2 separate regions of the Homo sapiens genome follow, and region 1 is linked to region 2. Evidence: promoter capture Hi-C in 16 types of primary human blood cells and fetal thymus (Javierre and others, 2016). All regions are on one chromosome and are shown on one strand. The core of a region is centred on a gene start or on the middle of the fragment in contact, and the rest is flanking DNA. Distances in the headings are between cores, read along the strand shown. Region 1 has its middle 170 kb from the start of PDE1C. Region 2 holds the start of PPP1R17 (protein phosphatase 1 regulatory subunit 17).

Evidence for each region. Contacts are between HindIII fragments. The CHiCAGO score rates a contact against its expected background, and 5 or more counts as called.
Region 1: a fragment that was not itself captured here is called in contact with the fragment with the promoter of PPP1R17 in region 2 in 1 of 17 cell types (neutrophils); the score reaches 7.7 in neutrophils.

Annotation. Positions count from the first base shown.
Region 1 is chr7:32,235,193-32,240,753 of GRCh38, reverse strand. It overlaps a transcript of PDE1C not described here. Among named protein-coding and RNA genes, the nearest start is that of PDE1C, 170 kb to the right of the region's middle. The HindIII fragment of the contact is 1,052 bases long and covers 1,159-2,210 here.
Region 2 is chr7:31,683,377-31,688,787 of GRCh38, reverse strand. It overlaps PPP1R17 (protein phosphatase 1 regulatory subunit 17), which reads right to left and starts at 1,573. Exons shown (of 5, transcript NM_006658.5): 1 at 1,482-1,573. It also overlaps a transcript of PDE1C not described here. The HindIII fragment of the contact is 9,056 bases long and covers 1-4,434 here.

The DNA of each region.
Region 1 (5,561 bases), core at 435-2,934, 550 kb before region 2:
GTCAGGTCATATCCCTGCTCTGCTCCAAACCCCCTGGTGGCCTTCTATGGTCTGGAGGACCCCATCTTGTCTTGTTCCTAGCTCTCTCATTCAGCTCCAGACACAAGAGTCCTCACCTTTTTTAGTAAAATTTTTGCCCCTTACTGTCTCTCCTCCCTCTCCTAAATCCCTGCATTCTTTTCACCAGCTCAGATGTTTCTGTGTCAGAGACTTTGTTGACCACACTGTTTAAAATAATACTTTCCTCCTCTCTATACCCTTAACCCTGCTTTATTTTTTATCATAGTAAACAACACCATCTGACATATTAAATATGTATCTGTTTGTTTTCTGCCTTTCCTCTTGTAAGCTCTGCAAAATCTGGGACTTACCATTTTGTTCACTGTTGAATCCCTAGCACATGGAAGAGTGCCTAGCATATAGTAAGCCCTCAGTTAATATTTGTAGAATGGAGGCATGTATGTCTTATATTTAATCCAGATAATCATTCATTACCATAAACTGTTCTTTAAAAATTATGAAATATTTTATATCCACAAAGTACAGTGAATAATATAATGTGCATACACCTACCCTCCACCCAGTTAAAGGAATAAAAGGTAACTCTCAGAATGGGCTAGCTTATGCTGCCGTAACAAACAGCTTTCACATGTAAGTGGCTTAAAACAAACAAACAACAAAAAATCCACACAAACAAACCTCTAACTCATGGTGCATGCCTATACATGGGGTGGCAGGGGGCCCAATTCAGGATCCAGGCTGACAGCATTGTTGTCAGTCACTGAGAGATTGTGACAAAAGGAAAGAGAGATGCTGAATTGCATGCTGGCTCTTAAAGGTTTCCATCTACAAGTGACATCTCTGCATACATTTCCTTGGCAGAAGCAAATCACATATACTTGCCTAGCTTAAAGGTGTGAGGAAGAACAATCCTACCATGTGCCTAAAAGGAGTGGAACCTAAATGTTTGTGAATGGTTCTAGTGATTGTCACAATTACAAATATAGTCAGAGCTCTCTGTGACCTACTTTCTGGTCTCATTTCTCTCCCTGTCCTCTAAAGAACATTGCTATACTTAATTTGATGCTATTTCATTGTGGTTTTAGTTTTTCATTTTCCTGATTATTAGTAAAGTAAAGTTGAGCATTTAAAAAAGCTTATTATCCATTTTAGTTTCCACTTTTGTGAGTTGCCTGTTTATCTACTTTATCTAATTTTAAAAAGTATTACATTATTTGTTGCTTTGTATTGACTTACAGGGTTCTTTTTGTATTTTGTATACTAGTATTTTGTTGGTTATAAATATATTCTTCTGCTCTCTGGTTTGTATTGCACTTTGTTTATGGATTTTCTTTTTTAAAGAAACAGAGTCTCCTTCTGTCTTTTGGGCTGGAGTGTAATAGTGCAATCATAGCTCATTGCAACCCAGAACTCCTAGGTTCAAGCAATCCTCTCATCTCAGCCTCCTGAGTAGCTAGTATGAGCACACACCATCACGCTTGGCTATATATATTTTTTTTCTAGAGACAGGGTCTCACTCTGTCACCCATATTAGAGTGCAGTGGCACAATCATGACTCACTGCAGACTCAACTCCTGAGCTGAGCACAAGCGATCCTTCCACCTCAGCCTTATGTTTTTAAAATGTTTTGTGAAGATAGGGTTTTGCTACATTGCTCAGGCTGGTCTCAAACCCCTGGCCTCAAGCAATTCTGCTGCCTTGGCCTCCCAAAGTGCTGGTATTACAGGCATGAGCTACTATGCCCAGTCTGCTTATCTTCTGAAACAGATGTTTTAAAACACTTTGTTGTTGCTTGTCAATCCTTTCCTTTATGGTCTGAGTCCTTTCATACCCTGAGGAAATAACATTTCCCAGTTCATGTTTAGGTCTTTATTCTTCCTGAATTGAAAGATGTAAATGGTGTGAATTAGGACTTTATTTTTCCCCAATATGGATAACTAACAGTTCCAGCATCTACTAATTTGTAACTTGTTCTATATCAAGTTTTCATATAGCAAACATTTTAGAACTCTATTTCATTCCATTAGTCTGTCTACTCCTGGGCCAATAAAAACATTGTCTTAATGGTTTCATAATTAAGTGCTAATATCTGATAGAATGAACATTATCCTTCCTCCCACCTCTGTTTTTCAAGATTGCTTTGGCTATATTTGGACCATTGTTCTGCCTTACAAATTTTAGAACAAGCTTGTCAAGTTCCATGAAAAACCTTTGTTGGAATTTTGATTTATTTATTCAACAGCAGTTATATCTCACTTATTATATGTCAAGCACTGTTCTAAATGCTTTACAAACACTTAGTTAAAATATATAACTTTATTTGGAGAGAACTGACATCTTTATGCTGTTGTCTTCCTATTCATGAAGAGGATCAATATCTGATCTTCTTTACTATCTTTTAATAAAATTTTATAAGTTTCTTCATAATGGTTTTGATGCATTAGCTAGATTTATTCCTTGGCACTTTATAAATTCGTATTGCCATTGTAGAAGATGTCATTTGAAAAGTTATACTTTCTAATTGTACATTGGTGGTGTAAAGGAACACAATATAGATTTTTGTTATTAGCCTTAGATCCAGCAACTTTGCTTAACTCTCTTATTAATTCTAATGATTTGTCTGTGGATTGTCTTGGATTTCCTAGGTAAAACTTATAACCTTTGGCCAGGTGTGGTGGTTTACGCCTGCAATCCCAGCACTTTGGGAGGCCGAGGTGGGCGGATCACCTGAGATCGGGAGTTCAAGACCAGCCTGACCAACATGGAGAAACCCCATCTCTACTAAAAATACAAAATTAGCCGGGCATGGTGGCACATGCCTGTAATCCCAGCTACTCAGGAGGCTGAGGCAGGAGAATTGCTTGAACCCAGGAGGCGGAGGCTGCAGTGAACCGAGATCATGCCATTGCACTACAGCCTGGGCAACAAGAGCGAGACTCTGTCTAAAAAAAAAAAAAAAAAAAAAAAAAGTATATATATATATATATATACACAGAGCCAAGTGCGGATAGTGGCTATCCTTATTTCATTATTGACCTTAAAGGGAATTCTCATGTTCACCTCTTAGAAGAATGCTTGGTAGGTGTCTAGTAGATTCTCTTGATCAGAAGTTTTCTCCTATTTTTAGTTTGCTGAGATTTTTTTTGCCTCAAATTTTATTTTTTAAATTAATGTAGAATTATTTTTGGCATACAGTTCAGTAAGTTTTAACATATTTAAATTCATATGTGTACCACCAGAGTAAGAGTATGGAGTAGTTCCATTACCCAAAAGAAACTCCATTGTGTAATCCTTTTATAATCAAACTCCCTCCCAATCCCTAGCCCGTGGCAACTACAGATCTGTTCTCTGACATTATAATTTTATTATTTTTAAGAATATTACATGAATAGCCGAGATGGGCGGATCACGAGGTCAGGAGATCGAGACCATCCTAGCTAACGCTGTGAAACCCTGTCTCTATTAAAAATACAAAAAAATTAGCCGGGCGTGGTGGTAGGCGCCTATAGTCCCGGATACTCAGGAGGCTGAGGCAGGAAAATGGCGTGAACCTGGGTGGTAGAACTTGCAGTGAGCCGAGATCGCGCCACTGCACTCCAGCCTGGGCGACAGAGCGAGACTCCATCTTAAAAAAAAAAAAAAAAAAAAAGAATATTACATGAATAGATTCATGCAGTATGTAACCTTTTGAGACTGACTTTTTTTTGACTCAGAATAATGCCTACAAGATCCATTCCAGATGTTGCATGTATCAGTAGCTTTCTCCTTTGTATGGCTGAGTAGTAGTATTCCACTGTATGGGTGTACCACAGTTTGTTTATCTATTCACCCACTGAAGGGCATTTGGGTTGTTTCCAGTTTTTGGTGATTATGAATAGAGCTGCCATAAACGTTTGTGTACAGCTTTTTGTGTGATTATAAATTTTCATTTCTTTAGGATAAAAACTTGTATTAGGTGGATGTTTAACTTTATAAGAAACTGTAAAGCTGTTTTCCAGAGTGGCTGTACTATTTTGCATTCTTAATAGCAGGAGTTGAGAATTCCAGTTGCTCAGTATTGTCACCAGCACTTGATATCATCAAAATTTTTAATCTTAGCCATCCTATATAGCCTGAGATACAGAGTAGTATCGCACGGTGGTTTTAATTGGCATTTCCTTAATAGATAATGATGTTTAACATCTTTTTATGTGCTTTTTTTGACTACTGTGTATCTTCTATGTAAAATGTCTAAATCTTTTGTCCATCTTTAATTAGGGGCGAATGTTTTCTTCCTATTGAGTTTTGAGAATTTTTTATGTATTCTGAATACAAGTATTTTGTCATATATGTCATTTGCAAATATTTTCTCCCAGGCTATAGCTTGTCTTTTCATCCTGTTAACAGTTTATTTTGCAAAGCAACATCTTAAATTTTGATGCAATCTAGTTTATTTTTTTCTTTTATGGATCTTACTTTTGTTGTCATATTAAGAACACTAAGAATTGAGTGTTCCAATACATGAATGTGGTATGTCTCTCATTTATTTAGGTGGTCTTTAAAGATTTTAAAATAGATTTTATATCTTATATTTAGATCTATGATCTATTTTGAATTGATTTGTTTATAATGTATGAGGTCTAGGTCTAGGTTAATTTTTTTTGGTATATGGATGTTCAATTATTCCAACATCATTTGTGGGACAGACTATTCTTCCTCCATTAAAGTGCTTTGCAATTGTCAAAAATCAATTGGCCATATTTGTGTAAGTCTTTTTCTGGACTTTCTATTCTGTTCTGTTGATTATTTGTCTGTCCCTTTGTTAATACCATACTGTCTTGATTACTGTAGCTTAAGTCTTAAAATAAGGTAGTATGAGCCCTACAACTTTATTCTTCTTTAAAATCATTTTGGCTATTTTAGTTCACTTGCCATTCCACATACATTTCAAAATCAGCTTGCATATATTTACCAAGATTTATGTTAGAAGTTGATCAGAATTGTGTTATATCAGTAGGTCAGTTTCTGGATAATTGATGTCTTTACCATATTGAGTCTTCCAGCCCTGGACCACAATATGTCTCTCCTTTTATTTATGTCTTCTTTGGTTTCTTCAACAGTATTTTATAGTTCTCAGCACTCAAATCCTGTATATGTTTCACTAGATGTTTATGTATTTCATGGGGAGGGAGTGTATTGTAAATGGTATTGTTTTTGAAATTTTAGTTTCCAATTGTCCACTGTTAGTATATAGAAAAATTATTTTTGTGTGTGTGTTAATCTTAGATCCTCTGACCTTACTAAACTTGCTCATTAGTTCTAGGAGTTTTTTTTTTGTAGATTCCTTGGATTTTCTACATAGACAATCATGTAACTTATGAATAAGACCAGTTTTAATTTTTCTTTCTAATATGCTTGACCTCTCTCTATCTCTCTCTTCTTTCCTTCATCCCCCACTTTCTCCCTCTTTTCTTGCCTTATTGCACTGGCTAGGACTTCCAATATGATGTTGAATAGGTGTGGTGAGTGGACATTTTCCTTTATTCCCTTATTGGGAATTC
Region 2 (5,411 bases), core at 324-2,823:
GATTTCAGGGTTTGAGAAAGGATTTCAGGATTTCAGATTTTAAACTCTTGTAACTTCCTCTTACTAATCCTTACCTTCCTTTTCACAAGGGACAAAACCTTTCTTTTTACAGAGAGATACTTGTAAATGCAAATACCACTAAGAGCAGCAATATGTAAATTGATGTCACAATACACAGGGATTGTTAATGACAAAGGTCACCTTCTCTTTTGAGAACAGGAACTGAAAGGGGGAAGGAACTGGGTGCCAGAAAAGGGACCCCACTATATTGCAGAAAGGCAGGCACACCAGCGGAGCTGAAACACATTAGTTGGTTCAGTGTGTGGTCAGAAGCTGGTCTGGATTTTTTGTCTTTTCTCTTATCATTGAGCGGTTTTCTCAGTTGGATGTGAGAATATGCGGTTTAAATTATGGGAAGAAAATTCCTCTCAACTTTAAGATTGGATGCTGTGAGTCAATATAAGGTAGAAGCCAACGTTTGGCTGCTTGTACCACTCTCTAGCTGGGTGAACTTGGGACAGTTATCTGTTCTCTCAAAAATTTAGTTTTCAAATCTGTTAAATGGGGGAAGATAGTGGCTCTTCTCCAGGGTTGTTGAGAGTATTACCCATAGAATGTGCATGGAGTCCCGAGCCCAGGTCCTACACACTGATATTTTCGTGAGTGTGAGGGACCTTCTTGGATCTTTCAGTCCTCCATTTGTGATTATATGTCTATCTAAATTGATCTATCAGAATTATCTCTTTATCCCATCTCTGGCCTTCTCTGAAGCTGGTAATGAGATGAGAATAGTTCAAGACAAAAACCAACCCATTTCTAAATCTTGGGAACATAATAGAACTGATTCTCAGAAGCGAGTTGACACTTAGCTTACCATACGGTATTCTGAAGAATATCCCCCAAAGTAATCAGGTCTTGATTTACTGGATGGAATAAAAGGGTAGAAGGTTGTATCCACAGCCTATGTGGTATCTCGTTAATGCACCCTCTGGCTATGTAAAATACATATTCATTGTCAAACCTCTTTTTAACCAGAGGATTGAATTCAGGTCAAAAAGTACCGTCTTTTAAAATCAGATTTGTTCATTTAGAAAACCTAAATTGGCAGTATTCCTGGAGGAGAGACTGACTTAAAGTAGGGCATGGAGAATGTGTTTTGAGAAGCATACTTTCTGTACTTTCCCCAGCCTTGGAAGATAAACCTCTCTATCCTGTGTGAATATGCAGATACACCAACTTCATCTTGAAACTTTGCAAATGAGTTTGTGAGGGTTCAGTCTTTTACAGAACTCCATTCCCTCCCTTGGAAGAATGACTTGAAAGTGGTAACTTTTTCTGCTGTCCACTCGGCCCCAGCTTAGCCTTGCTCCATAAAGCACAACCCCGTGCCACCAGCTACAGCCTTCTTTGTCCCAGTAACTGACTGGAAACTTGCTTTTCTCACCACAAAAGTTCTTGGAGTAAAAATCTGAAGCACTTACCAATCAGCGCAGATGCAGGGAAGCGAAGGCGAGAGACAGGGAGGGCGTGTGTGCTCACCGAGGCTGGGCCTGGCTCCTCTGCGGCAGTGGCTGCTGCTGGCCGGCTCCAGCTCCTCTTATCTAGGGACCAGCTGCTGCTGTTGCCATGGGGATGCTCTGTTTCACAGGCACCAGGGCAAGGGGGATGGAGAAGGAAAGAGGACTAACATCTCCATCGCTGCTCTCCACGGCAATCATTGTACATTACAAAAGTACAGTATAGAGTCGTGCTTTGAGTTTCCGGTGTGCACACCAGAGAAATTCAGACAAACCAGCTACATCATTGAATTCCCATGCGATAGATTTTTTTTGGCCTGATTTTGTAAATATGGAAACTGAGGCACAAGAAGTTAAGTGATATGCCCAAGAGAGGCCACAGCTAATTTCGACTCTCAAAGCTATTTAAGTTTAAATCCAGAGTACTTTCAATCACTATTGCTGCTTCTCAAAGTACTATCATGAGGAGGAAGAGAAGGGTAGCTACTGCTAACATTTATGTAAGGCTACCAAAATGCCAGACACTCTTCTAGAGACTTCACACATATCTACTTACTTAACCCTCAGGCCAACCTTGTGAGATGAGCTACAGTCATCATCCCATTTTATTGATGAGGAAGCTGGGGCTCAAGAGTTACCAAATCATCTGACCAAGGTCTCCCCACATGGTGAAGCTAGGGTTTGAATGGGGTAATGAAATGCTAGGGTCCACGCTTGTAACCACTTTGCAATACCTCTCAGCAAAGAGAGCATTTCAAACAGCACATAGCAAAGAAAGCAGCCCCCAACTCTATAGGTTATAGTGTGCAGGCCAGAAAAAATTTCCTCCTTCAAAGGAACAAAGCCAAATGTACCAATATTAGGAATACGTAGGCACTCAAGAGTGGATGTTTAAGCAAGGTGGGAGAGGCGGGAGACATGCTGTCTTTTGGAGAGGAAGGTTCTATGTTTTGGGTCTGCTCACTGGAGGAGAGCCCACTGGGGTTTGGAGGAGCAGCAGTTTTGACTCCAAAGCAGGAAGGCCAGTCTGGGAGATCAGGTAGGTATCAGGACCCACTAGAAGGGCTCCAGACCCCCTGATAGCAGCCAATGGACCACCCAGTGATGCCCAAGAAATATGTTCTCACAGAAGATACGTGAGCACCATCCACACATCCATATTTTTTCCAGTCTTACCTGAGGTTCCCTGCAGAGCAGGTCCCTGGCAACCCCTTGGTTTCAACTGCCTGCTTGCCACTGGCAATGTGTTTGTTGGTGCCTCCCTCCCACTTGCCAGGATCCCAAATAACAGGGCTAGAACCATAGTAAACTCACCAAGAGGTTGACTCCTAGGGTTAGACTTTTGCCATGGTAACAGATAAGCAGAGAATGGACTTCTTTGCCTGTTCCATTTTGTGTTGATCCTTATTGGGACCTCCTGGGAAGAGATGAGGGTTGCTGAAAGGTGATGCTCTTGTCTAGGAAGGGAAGGCCCTAGATGTTGAGGGACAGGGCCTAGAAGCAGGTCTGTGTTCAAAACTGCCTGCTTTATCTTCTTCATTTTTTAAATTTTATTTTATTTTCAGTGCTGGGACACATGTGCAGGACGTGCAGGTTTGTTACATAGGTAAACGTGTGCCATGGTGGTTTGCTGGACCTATCAACCCATCACCTAGGCATTAAACCCTGCCTTACTTTATCTTCTTAACAACAGCCTTGTTGGCCAATGAGTTAGCAGCATCTTCAGTCCACACTTGAGTGGAAAAGATATACTTTCCTTCTGAAATCCTTGAATTCTTCTTTTGAATTAAACTGTTTTGAGGTAATAGATCTACATGTCGTTGTGAGGGATAATACAGGGAGATCTCCTATACGTAAGCAGTTATATCCAATGGTAACATCTTATGAAACTATCCTACAATATCAAAACCAGTATGTTGATATTTACATGAATATATACAGAACATTTCTGTCACCACAAGCCTCCCTTATCTTGCCGTTATATAGCCATGCCCCCCTCCGTTCCTTCCTAACCTCCTGCTCCCAATCACTTTTTAAACTCGGCAACCATGAATCTATTCTCCATTTCTATAATTTTGTCAATTCAAGAATGTTTTAATAATGGAATAATACAGTAGGTAGCCTTTTGGGTTTGGCTTTTTTTTTTTCACTCAGCATTATTCCCTAGAGATCCATTCAGGTTGTTGTGTGTGTCAATAATTTGTTCTTTGTCATTGCTGAATAGTATTCCATAGAATGGACCACAGTTGGTGTGACATCTTGTATATACACCTGGATTGTTACCAATGTTTGGCTATTACAAATAAAGCTGCTATGAACATTCATGTAGAGAGGCTTTTGCGTGAACATAATTTTTAATTTCTCTGGGATAATGCCCAGAAGAGTAATTACTGACAATTGCATGTTTCCTTTTACAATAACACCAAAGCGGCTGTAGCATTTCCCATTCCCACCAGCAATGTACGAAGGGTCCAGTTTCTCTGTATCTTCACCAGAATTTGGTGTTGCCAGTATTTTTAAAAAGCCATTCTCAGAGGTAGGTTCAGTAGTAATATCTCGTCATGGTTTTAATTTGCATTCTGTGCATGACTAATTATGCTAAACATTTTTTCATGTGCTTATTTGTCATCTGCGTAGTTTCTCTGGTGAAATGTTACTTCATGTCTCTTGTCTACCTTCTAATGGGACTTTTTATATTACTGTTGAGTTTTGAACTGGATCCTAGATATTCCAGATACTAGTTCTTTATTAGAAATATGGGTTGCAAATACTTTCTCCCAGTTTGCTGTTTGTATTTTTAATCTTTTCATGGAGTCTTTCACAAAGCATAGCTTTTAAATTTTTATAAAGTCCAATTCATCATTAATGAATTTTAAAATATATAATTTAGATTTTTCTGAGGCTCTTTGGAGAAGCTTAATTGTGTTAAGCATATTCCAGCCTGTAGATTTTAACAAATCCTTTTGTCACTTAATTTCCACAGTTCAAAGGGAATATTTTCAAAGACAGAAGAGTATGAATCCCTGATTTCCCCTTTGAATAGACATGTCTACTACTCCCAAGTTCGGGCTGTTGTTGCTGTTGCTGATTTTTCCCAGGGCTTCGTACATACTCTTTAATTGATTATGCCCCTCCCCCTTTTAAGGCAGATGTAAACAGCAACTGACAGGGCAGATGGTAATGTAAATCTATACCTTGGAGAGTTCTAAATAACAACCACATATGTGCAGTGCTGAAGTCATAGACCCTCAGCCTACAGCGCTCCCAGCATAAGTGCAAGGAGCCGTTGTGTCCATGGCATGATTTGTAGTCCAAGAGCCCTTTGATGTATGGCTGAATTCACTTGTGCCTTCATTCCTGATGGATGCCTGATGGTAACTAGCTTTAAATGAATATATTTCACTTTAATCACAAATATCCCATCTTTATGAATAAGAATTATTTATAAAATGATTGAGCATTTCCAGACAATTTATTTTAGTCAATAATCTATAAAATGTTCTCTTAAAAGATTTGCCTTTCATAGCCAATCTAGGGGTAGTTTCTGTGCTGATGAGTGATGAGGCTCCACCTTCTCAATTCAGGGAGGGGGAAAGAGAGAGGAAGAGAGAGCACTGAATATTCATAGGCCTGTTTTATCCCAGAGATCTTGCTGGATCTCGTTGGTTGTCTCCATCAGCCTCTTAGAGAGGAGAGTGAGCTGTCTCAGATCAATATCCCCTGGTAAGTGAGCACTGTGTCTTTGCTCTGGGCAGTTTTGAACACATGTCAGGTCCTGATAATAGGGAACTCTTTAATCTATAAGAAAATCTGATGTCATTTATTATCATTTCACTGAAAAAAAATAGAAAATATTTAATCTTTCAGATATGAATTGTCACATTAAACAATAAA